Regions from separate parts of the Homo sapiens genome. Here region 2 is linked to region 1. Evidence: promoter capture Hi-C in human tissues and cell types (Jung and others, 2019). All regions are on one chromosome and are shown on one strand. Each heading gives the region's core, a stretch centred on a gene start or on the middle of the fragment in contact. The rest is flanking DNA. Distances are from core to core; before and after follow the strand shown. Region 1 holds the start of ABHD12B (abhydrolase domain containing 12B). Region 2 overlaps NIN (ninein).

Region 1 (7,382 bases), core at 3,530-6,029:
GGGCTGGAAAGCATTTTTGATAAATTGTCTCCCCTGCCCTGATTTCTATGCTAGACCAGAGGCATTTTTGGAAGATAATTATTACCTTTGCTTTGCAAATGAGACTGGAAAGTTAAGTAATCTTTCCAAGGTCACAAGTCAATGAATGGCAGAGCCACACATACCCAGGTCTGTCTGATCCCATAGTCTTATAATGATCTCCAGGATGTCACAGTCTTGGTGACATCCATGTAAGCAGAAATGAACCCCAGGAACAAAGCTGGCCTCTGGCAAAATTCTGCTCATAGACAATCTTGTTTTAAGATCTCCTTCTGCACCTTAGCCCTCTCAGCAGGGTCCCGTCCTTTCTTCTTTCCTCCTTCCTGCTCCTGTATTCTCAGGAGCCCTCTGATAACAAAGTCATCAAAGAAAGACCTCTAAAAAAATTAATTCCCCCTGAAGTGTTAATGACTTAAAAATCAGAGCACTTATATGTGTTTGGAAGAGGCACGAAGAGAGAAGATAATGAATCTCTGATGAATTTCCAGCAGTTCTGCAAGAAGTGGAAAAGATATGTGGGCTAAGGGTAATGGATAGATTTTTGAATACATCATACGCTGGCAATTGCCTACTCATAAAATCAGCAAGAAAGAAATGAAAATGATTGTTTCATAATACTTTAAAATAGCACCCCACCACCCCTGCCATGAAGGCGGCAGGAAGGAGAGGACATTGTTGTTCTGATTTTAGAGATAAGAAATCAAAACCCAGAGAAGCCACTTTGAGCCACAGATCAAGCCCAAATGGACAGAACTGAACCCAAGGCTGAACTGTGCCTCCTTCCAGCTGCTGGCTCCTGCTGGCTTCCTTCTAAGCTCCCCTCACTCACCTCCACCCTGCCTGTTAGTCTCCAGCTAAGCTGTCTTTTGAAGGTAGGCAGGGTAGTCTCCCGCTAAGCTATGTTTTGAAGGTCTGCTTGGGAAGCAGAGGCAGTAGAGGGAAATGTGTGTCTGTTTTTTAAGGAATAATTCATACACAGTCCTTCTCTCAAATAGCTCGAGGCACTTTTCTGAGATGCACTGCGGGAAGAGAACAGAGTGACCAGATCCTCAGAGCATCAATAATGCAAAGCAGCTTCTTTTAACTAAGGGGTTGTCAATTTGACTTCCCCTAGATCAGTAAGGGATCAAAAGTCACCAGTGGCTAATAGACCTTATTTGAGCAGAGGATGCAGTTTCAGCCCAATCCCCGCTAACGGCCAGCCACATCAAACGGCCACCTTGGTGCTTTGGTGTTCTTTCACTTGCCCTTTGATCAGCTGCAGCTGTAACCACACAGCGTCCCACAGGGGACTCAGAACCTAACTGGATGATTCTTACTGGTGAAAGCTGGTGGAGTCTGAGCTGCTACAGGGTGAATCACTCATGCTCAGAGGTTTCTGCAAACCAACTTTGGGAAGCCCAAATCTAACTACATTTACTATTTCAAATATTAAGACAGGTACCTTCAACCTGTGTGCCAATTCACTCAGTCGACATGTGTTTGTCACCAAGCACCGGGAGACATCCTCCCAACCAAATCCCCTCTTCCTTCACACCCATGGAAGTATCTCTTTTTTGTCAAAGTCTCCTGGAGAGATCATTCCATGGTGACCTCTCCTCTCTTGTCTTTCCTCCCACAAATAATAACGGGGCCTCAGCTGGCCTTGAATTGTTCTGTGATGGCTTTCCCATTATTAGCCCTGTCTTCTCCACTCTATCAGGCCACAGACAACAAGAACAACATGGCATAGAATGCTTCCTTTACATTTCCCTCTGTCTAGCCCAGGGCTGAGCTCAGTAAATATTGACGCATAGGTTGAAAATAGAAAGAGAGTGCATTTATTTTGTAAGGGAGAAGGAAGCAACATTTATTGGTAGCTTCAGAGGAAAGAGGAAGGACTTCATTTTCTTTTTTTTACTTACAATTGCAAATGAATCAATGTGTGCTCCACAGAGCAAGGATTTTGTCTGTTTTATTTACTGCTGTGTGACCAAGACTAGAATACTATCCAATAGATAATAAAGAACCAACGCTGTGGAAAGAATGAACACATTTATCAGCCTACTCCTGCACATTTTCTGAGCACTATCTAGGATTGTAATGACTTGGGGTGGAATGGGGGAAATGAGGAGGAAAATAAACCTTTGGTTTCCCCCAACTTCCTTCTGGAGCACATTTTCCATTTTTCTTTTTTTATTATTATTTTTTTTTGAGACGGAGTCTCGCTCTGTCACCCAGGCTGGAGTGCAGTGGTGCGATCTCGGCTCACTCCAACCTCCGCCTCCCAGGTTCAAGCAATTCTCCTGCCTCAGCCTCCGGAGTAGCTGGGACTACGGGCATGTGCCACCACGCCTGGCTAATTTTTTGTATTTTTAGTAGAGACAGGGTTTCACTGTGTTAGCCAGGATGGTCTCCATCTCCTGACCTCATGATCTGCCCGCCTTGGCTTCCCAAAGTGCTGGGATTACAGATGTGAGCCACAATGCCTGGCCTCATTTTTCTAATTTAAAGAAAACCAGTTGTAAAGTGGAGACTTACTCTCCTTGGCCCACCCACCTTAAGCAGCAACTGGATTTGATAAAAATTTTTGTAAAATAAATAACTAGATTCCCAAGGCATTAAAAAATAGCCACTGAAAAAATCATATGATGAAATGTTCTTGGGTCTCACAACACATCCCACTAGTTCCAGTGCCATGATCAGGGCCAGGGGCATGGCAAGCCCTCCATGAAGGTTTGCTCACCTAAGTGAACCCGGCTCCAAGAATCAAAGAGGACTTGGGATAGTGGAAATGGGTCTGGGCCTCAGCCTCAGCACATCTTATGGTAGCCAATAATCTTCTGCTCAGATGAAGACATACGCTAGTATTTTGTTCTTTCAGGAAGTGTCTCTTGAGACTTTTTTCACTAATTAGTAAGGCAAGTAATAGATGGTCCCCAACTCCCTATCTCCCACTCCATTATCAACAAAGTGGGTTATTCTCTATGAGTATGATGTGCAACTTTGATTCTCTGCCTAATAAATGCCCTTTACTGCCAAATAAATGTTAAATAATCAGCCATCAATTCCACAGAGACCATCAAAGTGAAAAACATTAGATGTCAACGTTCCCAGAATCACCACATCTGGGAGAGAAGTCCTGTTAATATGCAGTTTGACAAGTGCAATCAGGACATTCTGCCACGTGTTCAGATCCAACCCAGAGCTGGGAGGCATGGGTTCTAGGTGACTGGGCCCCTGCAGAGCTGCCAGCACTCTGCTGTCTGCAATGAGAATAAAAAGGAATAGAAGAGAAAAGAGACCAGGTGCAGTGGCTCACACCTGTAATCCCAACACTTTGGGGTGCCAAGGCAGGTGGAATCTGTGAGCTCCAGGAGTTTGAGACCAACCTGAACAATGTAGTGAAAACCCATATCTACACAAAATACAAAAATCAGCTCAGTGTGGTGGCAGGTGCCTGTAGTCCCAGCTACTGGGGAGGCTGAGACGGGAGGATCGCTGGAGCCCTGGGAATGAGCCAAGATTGTGCCACTGCACTCCAGCCTGGGCAACAGAGTGAAACCCTTGTCTCAAAAAAGAAAAAAAAAAGAGAGAGAGAGAGAGAAAAGATCCCCGTTTGTCATCATCACTCTGGGCACTCCAAAGTGAGGTCTCCTGTGTCTGGATGTAATTTTTGGATATTTTCTAATCAGCACAAATTAAACAAAAGGAATAGAAAGAGGGAAGTAAAAATGCCAATACCTTCCCACACCAACAAAACTAAATGAAATACCCACGTGTCCTGGGTCCACGATCTCCAACCAATACCTGGCTTCAGTGCAAACAAGACTGACAATATGTTGCAGGTGGATTCAGGTAATTTAAGATTACTGTTTAAACCGAGGATCCATGGGAGGAAGAAAACAGAAACAAAACCCGAAACACCCACTGATACATTTCAGACTTAAACAACATAAGAACTTGGCACAGGTAATGCCAAGTTATGGTTTCAACACACTATGTACATCTTTAGCATACTGGAGGTGTTTTCTTTAAATACATGCCAGGGAGTTCACACTCAGGGAACTAGGCACGGATTTTCTGATTCTTTTCCACCTACACAGATAGGCCCTTGACCTAAGAGGATCCCGTCCAAGATTACAACATATATTACTATTGTCACTATTACTAATGTCATTCAGATCCATCTTGTATGTTAGCAAAATGGTCAGATAATAGAGATTGGTGTAGGAATTCAACCATCTCCCTGGCATCTGTATTTCAGAAGCCCCCAAAAGTTATAACTTCCTGAAATACCAAACCTGAGAGTCTCGCTGGTCCAGGTTGGGATTGAGGCTGAGGATAGCAAGGGCAACCAAAGAGCCCTAGAGTTCTCAGGGGGCCGCCGAGGTCCCCCGGAAGCCACAATGCTGGGCCTTGGGCCCGGGCCAGCAGAGGGGATTGCGGCCTCGGCCGCGCCCTGGCCCCCTGCCCCATCCCCGCGCAGCCTGAGCCGTCGGGGCCCGGCCAGGGGTGGACCGGGCGGTACTCACCGCAGGTTGCGGTCGACCATGTCCCACCAGGCGGCCACGCAGCTACGGGCTGGGGGCCCGGGCGGCTCGGGCGATGCGGCCGCCTGGCAGTCCTGCGCGTCCATCCCGCGCCGTGTCCCGATACGCCGCCACCGCCGCGGGAGCTGCAGTCCGGAGCAGCCGCCCGCGACCTTCCCGCCCCGGCGGCACCGCGCCCGCCCTCCTCCTCCGCGCGGTCAGGCAGGCTGGTACGGCGGGGGAGACGCGGCCCGAGGGTGCGCTCCGCCCGGGTCAGGCTGTTCGCGGCCACACACACACACACAGATGTCCTAAGCTTATAGCTAGCTATGCTACATTTTATTTTAAATTGATTTCCATTATACTTCTGTGTGTGTGTGGGTGTGAGGCGCGCGCAACGCAGTAAAATATGTTTTCACCATGGTACTACTAACACAAAAGTTTGACCGCCACAGCTTTTGATTTTCATGAAGAATATAAGCTTTCCTCTACTTAAACCTCACTTTTTTCTTTTTCTCTTTTTCTGAAGCCTCCTTGTCTCCAATTCCCCATCCACCCCCAAAATCCTCACAGCCCCCCACCCTGTCACCCTTACTATAGAAAGAATTTCTTTGGCTCCCTTTGATTTACTAATGATTTGTCTGTCCACGTGGGGTTATGAACACAATTACTCCATGTAGCAAAAAATTAAGACCTTTTCGGTATTTTGTTTACGTAGCAGCATGTAGCAGAACCTCATCATTGTACCAAGGAGTTCACACCTTGAAACTTTGACCTTGGTACAGGTTTACATCTTGGTGCAGGTTTACATTGTGCAACTGTCTCCTAGGAGCAGGAACTGTCTACCAGAGCTACTCTAGGGAAGCCACGGCCTGCATGTGTGGGGACAAAGGAGGAAGAAAGGGAATTAGGTTTTATTTGGATACATTCGGATGCCAGCATCAAGGCTTCATCTTGGAGGCAAGGTGCAAATCTTAAGAGGTGAAATGGGTTTTTTGTAGTGTCTGTGTTCAGAGGGCACAGCAGGGGGCTGTCAGCACCAGAAAGTGCGTGGAAACCCATCTGCTTGAGGATAGTAAGATGGTCTGGGGGAAAATACCCACACTTTTCAAGAAAGGGAAGTTTTCTTTGAGTACTAGCTCATTTCATGGAACTGTCAGGGCAAAGGGGGATTTTGTTCACTGCCTGTTAATACTCTTATACTTGCTCTGGGAATGTTTGTTTTCTTTGTTTCTTTCTCTTTCCTTCCTTCCTTTCTTTCTTTCTTTCTTTCTTTCTTTCTTTCTTTCTTTCTTTCTCTTTCTTTCTTTCTTTCTTTCTTTCTTTCTTTCTTTCTTTCTTTCTTTCTTTCTTTCTTTCTTTCTTTCTTTCTTGTCATGGTCTTACCCTGTCACTGAGGCTGGAGTGCAGTGGTGCAATCATAGCTCACTGTACTTGAACTCACTTGAACTCCTGGACTCAAGCAATCCTTCCACTCCAGCCTCCCAAGTAGCTGGGACTACAAGCATGCACCACTATGCCTGGTGCGCGCGCGCACGCACGCTTGTGTGTATAGAGATGAGATCTCACTATGTTGCCCAGGCTGCTATCAAACTCCTGGCCTCAAGCAATTCTCCCACTTCGGCCTCCCAAAGTGCTGGGATTACAGGTCTCTGTCACCACACCTGGCTGGAATGTTCAGTTTCTGATTCACACACATCAAGATAGAAGAGGAATTAGCTCAGAAAGGACCAATGGGATCCAAGCCTGACTGATGAGCCAGCAGCAGGTGGGTTTTCACAGAGCCACAACCTGCATGATGAGAAAGCTTCAAGCAGATGTCGGCTCTACCCTTGGAGTTCTTCATAAACGTGGTCTGGAATCTCCCAGAACTTGTTCAGGGAAGCTCTGGATGGGACTCTGGGGCCATGCCAAGTGGAGATGGAGGGATCAAAGATGGGGAGGAGAGCTTGGAGGAGAGAAGAACAGCTGCATATGGTCCCAGAGTCTATTTCCATCTACTTGCTCAGGTTGAGAGAGGATATTTCCATCTACTTGCTGGATGAACAAAGTTGTAAGCCCCAAGTCTAGGGATATGTTTGAAATGCTCAGCAAAAATCTCTGAAATTGGAAATCACTATGGCCCATTTTTTGAAAGGTTGCATAAGACTCTGCAAGAAGGTCTTTCCCAGTATAAATAGCCCCTTTCAAATGGCACATCCTGGAAATCAGGGAACAAAGTCTCCCATATGATTTGATAGAACCTGAAAAACAAAATATGCATTCATTTATTCAGCACCCATTTACTGAGCACCTTTTAGGTACCAGGTACCACATTGGGCACCGTAGGGATACAAATCAGGATCCCAGCTGGTAGAGATTCATTTCAGGATGAACCATGAGAACACAGAACAGGAAATGAAAAGTGTCTTAAGGGTAGAGATTAAATCAGGGGATAGCAGGGGCTGGAGGTGGGGAGGGGAGGTTGACTACAAAGGGGTGCGAAGGGACATTTTAGAGTGATGGGAATAGTCAACATCTCAAGTGTGGTGGTGGTTACTATAAATATCCACCAATGCATATAACTCACAGGTGAATTTGACTGAATATGAATTATACCTCAACAAACCTGACTTTTGAAAAGTGACCTAAGAAATGTACAGATAAACTATATAAATGAACATGTCCTATGTCATGTTGTATAAATGTTAAGACAAAGCTGATGGTACAAATACATCAGAAACCAACAGTTGAATGTTATTTGCACTAGCAGAAAAATAAATCTTGATTGGAGACAGATTAATTTGACCACCTAAAATTATTCTGGAAAAACAGGGAATGGGGAATAAGACT
Region 2 (7,382 bases), core at 4,855-7,354, 130 kb after region 1:
CAGCCTGGGCGACAGAATACTCTGTCTCAAAAAAGAAAGAAAGAAAAAAGGCTTAATTTTAAATATGAAAATATGAAAGAGGTCTCAACTTAAAAATTATGTCCTCTCATGGAGAAATGCATTGTTGGAAAAAAACAATTTGCATCCTAAACATTGTCCTGTTTTCAGTATTTACAGGAGTCTTTCAATTGGAACAATCTTGATTTATGGTAGGAAAATTTAGTTGTTCCATTTTATTTGTTTACTTCAGCATCAGATTGTGATGGCACTCATATAAAATTTTCATTCTTAACATCTGTCTCTTCAACCTGTAAGCACAAAGTTGTCCTTTCCTGAATGTGGAAACATTGAGTCTATAAATCTGGTATTATGTTTATGTTGATCTGATTGACTCCTATGCGTCTTGCTTTTTTAATAGCATTATAAAACCCTCAGGGTATGTGTGTCTTTCATAATGCCTAGTATAGTACTGGTACTCAATAGGTGCTTTATAAGAACCTTTTCAAGTTAACTACTGCTATGCAAAATGCATGTTCTGCCGTGACTAGAGAAGTCGCCTGTCCATATAAACATAACAGAAGTTAAAACTCATGGGGCCTTTCTGTAGTGTGGTGAAGTATTCCAAGGCTGTTATTACCAACTTTATCCTAATTAACTTGAGCATCCTTTTTTCCTTGACTTTTTGAAAGCCTGTCTGTTGTTCAGCCTTTAGATGATAATGATTGGTTTCAAATTCATAGTATGGGAAATGTGTGCTTTGTGGCTTTGCTAAGCTGGAGAACAGAAGGAAAGGAGCAGAGCTAGGAGAAAAACAACATGATGGGGATGTCATTCAGCACGTTTTTATTGCTTTTTTTTTTTTTTTTTTAAACAAGCATTGGTATAAATAGTGAGATGAAGAAATTGTGAGCCTGGTCTGCCTTTGGTAGAAAGTTGTTTTATCAGAGACCTGGATCCTTTTGGATCCCAAGAATAGGGTAGCGTCAGCCCATCATTGCTATTATACAACGTGGACCTAGAAGGCATGTGTCACTCTGTATGATATCGTGATTCATAGTTCACAAAGCACTTCTATCTGTGTTATCTATTGCACTGAAAGGAAACACAAATAGCATCAGCAAAAGTTACATGCCAGTTTACAGACATCCAAAATGGTATCAAGCTTTACGGGTGTCTGGAGGGTAGGAAGACAAGGCAGTGGATAAAGTAGAAGGTCCTTTATTAAACCAGTGCCCAGGTATTTCAAAATACATTTTCCTATATCCTTCTGACTTGTTCAGATTTGTAAGGTATGCTGGATTTGTCACCAGTTGAAGACAAGATTGAACCCTGAAAGTCTGTTTTGTCATACTATTCCTACAGCTAAATGTGAAAGAATTTCAGGTTCAGGAAGTAGAAAGATGGTCGTAAAATCATAATGATAATAAAGAATTGAAGAGTCAAGTGAAATAGAGGAAAGTTAAAAACCTATGAACTATGGAAAAGGGTTAAGAAGTGTAAGAAACAGCCTCTTTAAAGCATGGGTTTTCAATAGGGTGAAGGGGTGAGGATTGCTCTCCTGCCCCAGAACATTTATCAATGTCTGGGCACATTTTTTGTTTTCACAACTGGAAGGTGGGGGGTTACTGCCATCTTTTGAGTAAAGCCAGAGACGCTGTGAAGCATCCTACAGTGTCCAGAATGCCCCGCGACCCCCAACGCCTGAAGAATTATCCAGCCCAAAATGAGACTAGTACCAGCACTGATATTGAAGACGAATAAAAAACAGTATTTGGTTTGTCTTGATTTCATGAAGTGGAGAGGAAAAGCCAGTATGTTCGCACCAACAACATTTTACTGGCCAGTCAGCGTAGGCACCTTCTGAAAGGAAGAGTACAGGGAACAAGCTGAAAACACGGTTTTATCTTTAAACTTGCCTTTGGGTTGTTACTTGTATGTGGTTCATGCCAATTCTAGGGGGTTTTTTTGTTTTGTTTTGGAGACAGAGTCTCTGTCGCCCAGCCTGGAGTGCAGTCATCTCGGCTCACTGCAGCCTCTGCCTCCCAGGTTCAAGCGATTCTCCTGCCTCAGCCTCCTGAGTAGCCAGGATTACAGGCATGCACCACCACGCCTGGCTAATTATTTTTAATAGAGACAGGGTTTCACCATGTTCACCAGACTGACCTCAAACTCCTGAGGTCAAGTGATCCTCCCCACCTTGGCTTCCCAAAGTGCTGGGATTACAGGTGTGAGCCACCCCCACAGCCCAATTCTATAGTCTTGACTGGTTTTTTAAAAGGAGAGCTAGGATCATTATTTAACAATGTCTGCCTGGTTCAATCTACCTAAGCAGACATTTCAACAGTCAACTGGGAATCAGAGAGAAGCCAGAAGGGAATCCTTGAAGTTTATTATAGTCTCTGCTAGAGTTTATGTCCTCTGAAATATCCACAGATAGGCAAATAGCAGCAGCTGTGAAAATGCCCTATTTAGAAATACCCCTTTGTACTTACAGCCATGAGATGTGATGGGAGGGCTCATTTGTTTATCTCTTACAGCTGCACAGATGTCCCGATCTCTCTGACTTCCAGCAAAAAATCTCTAGTGTTCTAAGCTACAACGAAAAACTGCTGAAAGAAAAGGAAGCTCTGAGTGAGGAATTAAATAGCTGTGTCGATAAGGTAGTAGAAGTAATAAGACTTTACCATCATCGTATACAATACACACCATAATGAACCTTTCTCTGTGGACAGTGGCACAGGGGCCTCCTGTGGTAGTCTGTTGTTCCAGAGTGTCCTGGAGCAGCATTTCTTTGGCATTCTGTGACCCCAGACTTCCTGCAGCCAAGACTGATGAAGTCTAAATTAGTTGTTTACTAATTATATTATTAAACTCGATAATACAAAATGTTTCTTATCACATCACAGTGCTACTTTATACCGCTATTTTGTTATAATATAAATTATGTGTTTAATAATCTGAGATCAATTTCATAGATAAACACTTTTTTTCTATTTTATCTTCTTTAGCAAATCCCAAAACACCACCTTTTTTCCCCACCTGCCTTAAGAGATATTCTGTTTTCTTCCTATGGTATGCTCTTGAGATTTTTAATGGCCTTCCAGCTTACCATCTTCCACCCTCAAAACATGAGGCAATAGAAAAGAAAAATAGGAAATTTCCAAAAAGAAGCAACTCCTCAAAATTAGACGTGTAAAACAGTCTTTGGTTTGTCTCGATTTGGAGCCAGGAAGACCATTTCCTTTGACCTTGCCCTGCTCCCCTACATAAATAGATGGTACTTGTTCTTGACAATGTAAGTGCAGGCATATAAATTAAGGCTAGCTATGTTTGCAAAAATGCCCTCTTACCTCTTTTTCCCTTCCTGAAACAGTTGGCAAAATCAAGTCTTTTAGAGCATAGAATTGCGACGATGAAGCAGGAACAGAAATCCTGGGAACATCAGAGTGCGAGCTTAAAGTCACAGCTGGTGGCTTCTCAGGAAAAGGTACATGGACAATTCTTGTTTCATCTTCACGGTTAGTATTCTCCTAGATCTTCCAACAGAAATCCCGGTAAAAAGAGTGTTCCAGGTAGAAGTAGCGTAAGAGGGTTCCAAATGATTCAATTTGACCAATGTTTGATGTGTGTTTATAGTGTGGCAAGGCTGGGCATGGTGGCTCACCAGCACTTTGGGAGGCCGAGGTGAGCAGATCACTTGAGGTCAGGAGTTCGAGATCAGCCTGGCCAACATGGTGAAACCTCATCTCTACTAAAAATTAAAAAAAAAAAAAGCCTGGTGTCGTGGCAGGTGCCTGTTAAGTCCCAGCTACTCCAAAGACTGAGGCAGGAGAATTGTTTGAACCTAAGAGGCAGAGGATGCAGTGAGCCAAGATCATGCTAGTACACTTCAGCCTGCACGACAGAGCGAGACTCCATCTCAAAAAAAGAAAAGTAAATATAGTATGACAAAATGATTTAAATAATATTTCAAACATTGCAGCAAAATAATTTAAATATTTCCATCAAAGTTTATTAATTATGAAGGCTTGAGAATAGTGCATAAAAATGACTGCTTGTTCCTAATTTATAGATAGGACTTCTAAGGCAGTTTATGCCCTATTTTGAAGATCTATATCAACATTCCCTTTATGAATTTAAATTTTTAAAATTGGAATTTATATGCGGTATTAGCGTAAAATAGGATTCTTCTTTAAGAGGTGAGGTCTTAGCCAGGCACGGTGACTCACGCCTGTAATCCCAGCACTTTGGGAGGCTGAGGCAGGCGGATCACGAGGTCAAGAGATCAAGACCATCCTGGCTAACACAGTGAAACCCCGTCTCTACTAAAAATACAAAAAAATTAGCCGAGCGCGGTGGCAAGTGCTTGTAGTCCCAGCTACTGGGGAGGCTGAGGCAGGAGAATGGCGTGAACCTGGGAGGCGGAGGTTGCAGTGAGCCGAGATCGTGCCACTGCACTCTAGCCTGGGCGACAGAGCAAGACTCTGTCTCCAGAAAAAAAAAAAAAAAAGGTGAGGTTTCTTTGTATCCCAGGCTGGATCACCACTTGCTGCCACCTCAAACTCCTGGGCTCAAAGGATTCTCCCACCTCAGCCTTCCAGGTAGTTGGGACTACAGGCACACGCCACCACACTCAGCTTTTTATTTTTGGTAGAGATGGGGGGTCTTGCCATCTTGCCTAGACTAGTTTGAAACTCCTGGGCTCAAGCGATCCTCCTGCCTTGGCTTCCTAAAGTACTGGGATTCCTGGTGTGGGCCACCATGCCTAGCCTAGAATAGGATTCTACAAGTATATATTTTTATTTGCAACTAAGAGGGTCCTTTACAGTCCAACATCATAGGCTAAAACAATTTCTACAAAATTCAGTGAAACCATCTTTTGTGATGCCAGTTGGCACCCATTGGTATTGTAAGATACCATTTAGTAATCTACCAGATGACTATCAGCAATACCTTGCTCCAGACATAGTTCATCATTGTCCTAAATATAATTTAACATCCTGTAAATATACCTACTGTCCTAGGTTTCCACTGAGCTACTGACAAGAAAGCTGGATTTAGTAAAGAGAAACAAACAGACTTGAAAGTTCTTTTGTCCTTATTCATTCCTGAACATGCTAGAGGTGAGACCACAAGAGTTTGTGTAGCAGTAAAAGATCATTCTCACAATACAGGTTCAGAATTTAGAAGACACCGTGCAGAATGTAAACCTGCAAATGTCCCGGATGAAATCTGACCTACGAGTGACTCAGCAGGAAAAGGAGGCTTTAAAACAAGAAGTGATGTCTTTACATAAGCAACTTCAGAATGCTGGTGGCAAGGTGATTTGTTCTTTTTTTATTTAGGTATAAGTTATTTACAGTAAAGTATACAAATCTTAGGACAACTTGGTTATTTTTATGTGTATATGTATGTACATATAAATATGCATATTTTATGTATCTGTGTTTGTATAACCATCACTTAGATAAAAATGTAGAACATTTCCAGCACTCAGCAGGCTCTCTCTTGTTCCCTCCAGTTGGTAACCCCAAGGGAACCACTTTTGTACCCTCTGCCACTGTAGTTTAGGGATGCTTTTTTCTAAATTTCATATAAATGAAACCATAGTGATATAAAACAGGTCTTTTTTTTGTATTGAGCAAGTCAGAAGACCATGGCTGAGTTGAGTTTTGTAATAACAAAACTAAAACATTTTCTTAAATGGTAGAGAAAAGTATTTGTGTGACCTTAAAAAAAATCAAATGTAGAAAAACATTGCAAGAAATTAATCTGGGAACTTATACACAGACTTGCAAAAAAGTACAGCTTCTGCTAAAAAGGCATAAAACAATAGTATTGAATTTCAGGAGATAATTCATTGCTACAAATAGGTTGCTATGGCACCAGAAAGTCCAGGAAGAGCTGATTAAAGTGTTAGCTGGCTGACACATTATGGTGGTGTGGTAGAAAGTGTCTCATTTTAATAAGTCACAGTGCTGCCTAATCTGTGTGCAAATAAATTAAGAACAATGTTATAGATGTCATTTTGGGGCAGATGTCAAGATTTTGTCCTACAATAAAAGTAGACACATTCAGTTATCTCTTGGTGAAACTTTTTATAAAAAAACTAGTTGTTTTGGGCTGGGTGTGGTGGCTCATGCCTGTAATCCCAGCGCTTTGGGAGGCCGAGGCAGGCAGACCACTTGAAGCCAGGAGTTCAAGACCAGCCTGGCCAACATGGCGAAACCCTGTCTCTACTACAAATACAAAAATGGCCAGGCATGGTGGCTCACGCTTGTAATCCCAGCACTTTGGGAGGCCTAGGCGGGCGGATCACGAGGTCAGGACTTCAAGACCAGCCTGCCCAACATGTTGAAACCCCATCTCTACTAAAAATAAAAAAAATTAGCTGGGCATGGTGGCGAGTGCCTGTAATCCCAGCTACTCGGGAGGCTAAGGCAGGAGAATCGCTTGAACCCGGGAGGGCTAGGTTGCAGTGAGCCAAGATCGTGCCACTGCACTCCAGCCTGGGCGACAGAGCTAGACTTTGTCTCAAAAAAAAAAAAAAGCCAGCTGTGGTAGTACATGCGCCCATAATCCCAGCTACTTGGAAGGCTGAGGCATAAGAATTGCTTGAGCCCGGGAGGTGGAGGTTGCAGTGAGCTGAGATCGTGCCACTGCACTTCAGCCTGGGTGACAGAGTGAGAGTCTGTCTCAAAAAAAAAAAAGTTTCCATTTTTAAAATTACTTCTGGGTTGACTTTTTCTGAAAATGAGATTGTACCTTTTTTTTTTTCATGTTTGGTTTAAAAGGTAAGAGGCTTATCTATTTGTGTTATCTTTTTAATTTTTTAAATCATTTTCAAGATCCAAAAAATCACTTTGGTAGCTGAAAGCACATTTCTGAATTCAGACGTTAATTACATGGACAATATGTGCTTTGGATTCTAAAAAAAGGATATGATTGCATATGTGAAAATGAAAGTAGAGTTTAGCCTATGAAAGCTTTTGAGTTGGCAGTGCATTTCAGCCTTCTCTTTATGTCCTCTGTGAATCAAATGAATATCTTCTGGGCTTAAAGATAACTTCGTAAGAATGAAGCAACTTTTAAGCCACCAGTCTCAATGCATTTGGGTCCTTTATGGAACTGGGCCTTGCCCTACAGTCATATTCATTATTGGACATGGCATGGCTGTTTTGTCAAAGACCATTTTAAACAGAGACTCTCCAAATCTTTTTGTTTAAATCAAACTTCAAGAATATTGTTTTATTCATATTTATATGTACATACACATACTTTCATTAGAAGACTGAGGGGACAATTGAAAGGTACTTATTAGGAGTCGTTGTCATTGGGTAAACATGACACCTGTCTCAAAACAGCAATTACCCAATAGCTTG

The links. Contacts are between HindIII fragments. The study calls those that stand out against the background at their distance.
Region 2: a contact is called between a fragment that was not itself captured here and the fragment with the promoter of ABHD12B in region 1, in 1 of the 25 tissues and cell types used here (spleen).

Annotation. Positions count from the first base shown.
Region 1 is chr14:50,869,450-50,876,831 of GRCh38, reverse strand. ABHD12B (abhydrolase domain containing 12B) reads right to left here and starts at 4,779. Exons shown (of 13, transcript NM_001206673.2): 1 at 4,554-4,779. The coding sequence starts at 4,657. RefSeq lists a silencer at 1,247-1,296. The HindIII fragment of the contact is 9,841 bases long and covers 1-5,694 here.
Region 2 is chr14:50,739,521-50,746,902 of GRCh38, reverse strand. It overlaps NIN (ninein), which reads left to right. Exons shown (of 31, transcript NM_020921.4): 23 at 2,538-2,660; 24 at 3,374-3,487; 25 at 5,175-5,321. LOC124903313 (a long non-coding RNA gene) reads right to left here and starts at 3,439. Exons shown (of 3, transcript XR_007064161.1): 1 at 3,351-3,439; 2 at 2,493-2,828; 3 at 827-1,860. RefSeq lists an enhancer at 1,802-3,001. The HindIII fragment of the contact is 4,060 bases long and covers 4,075-7,382 here.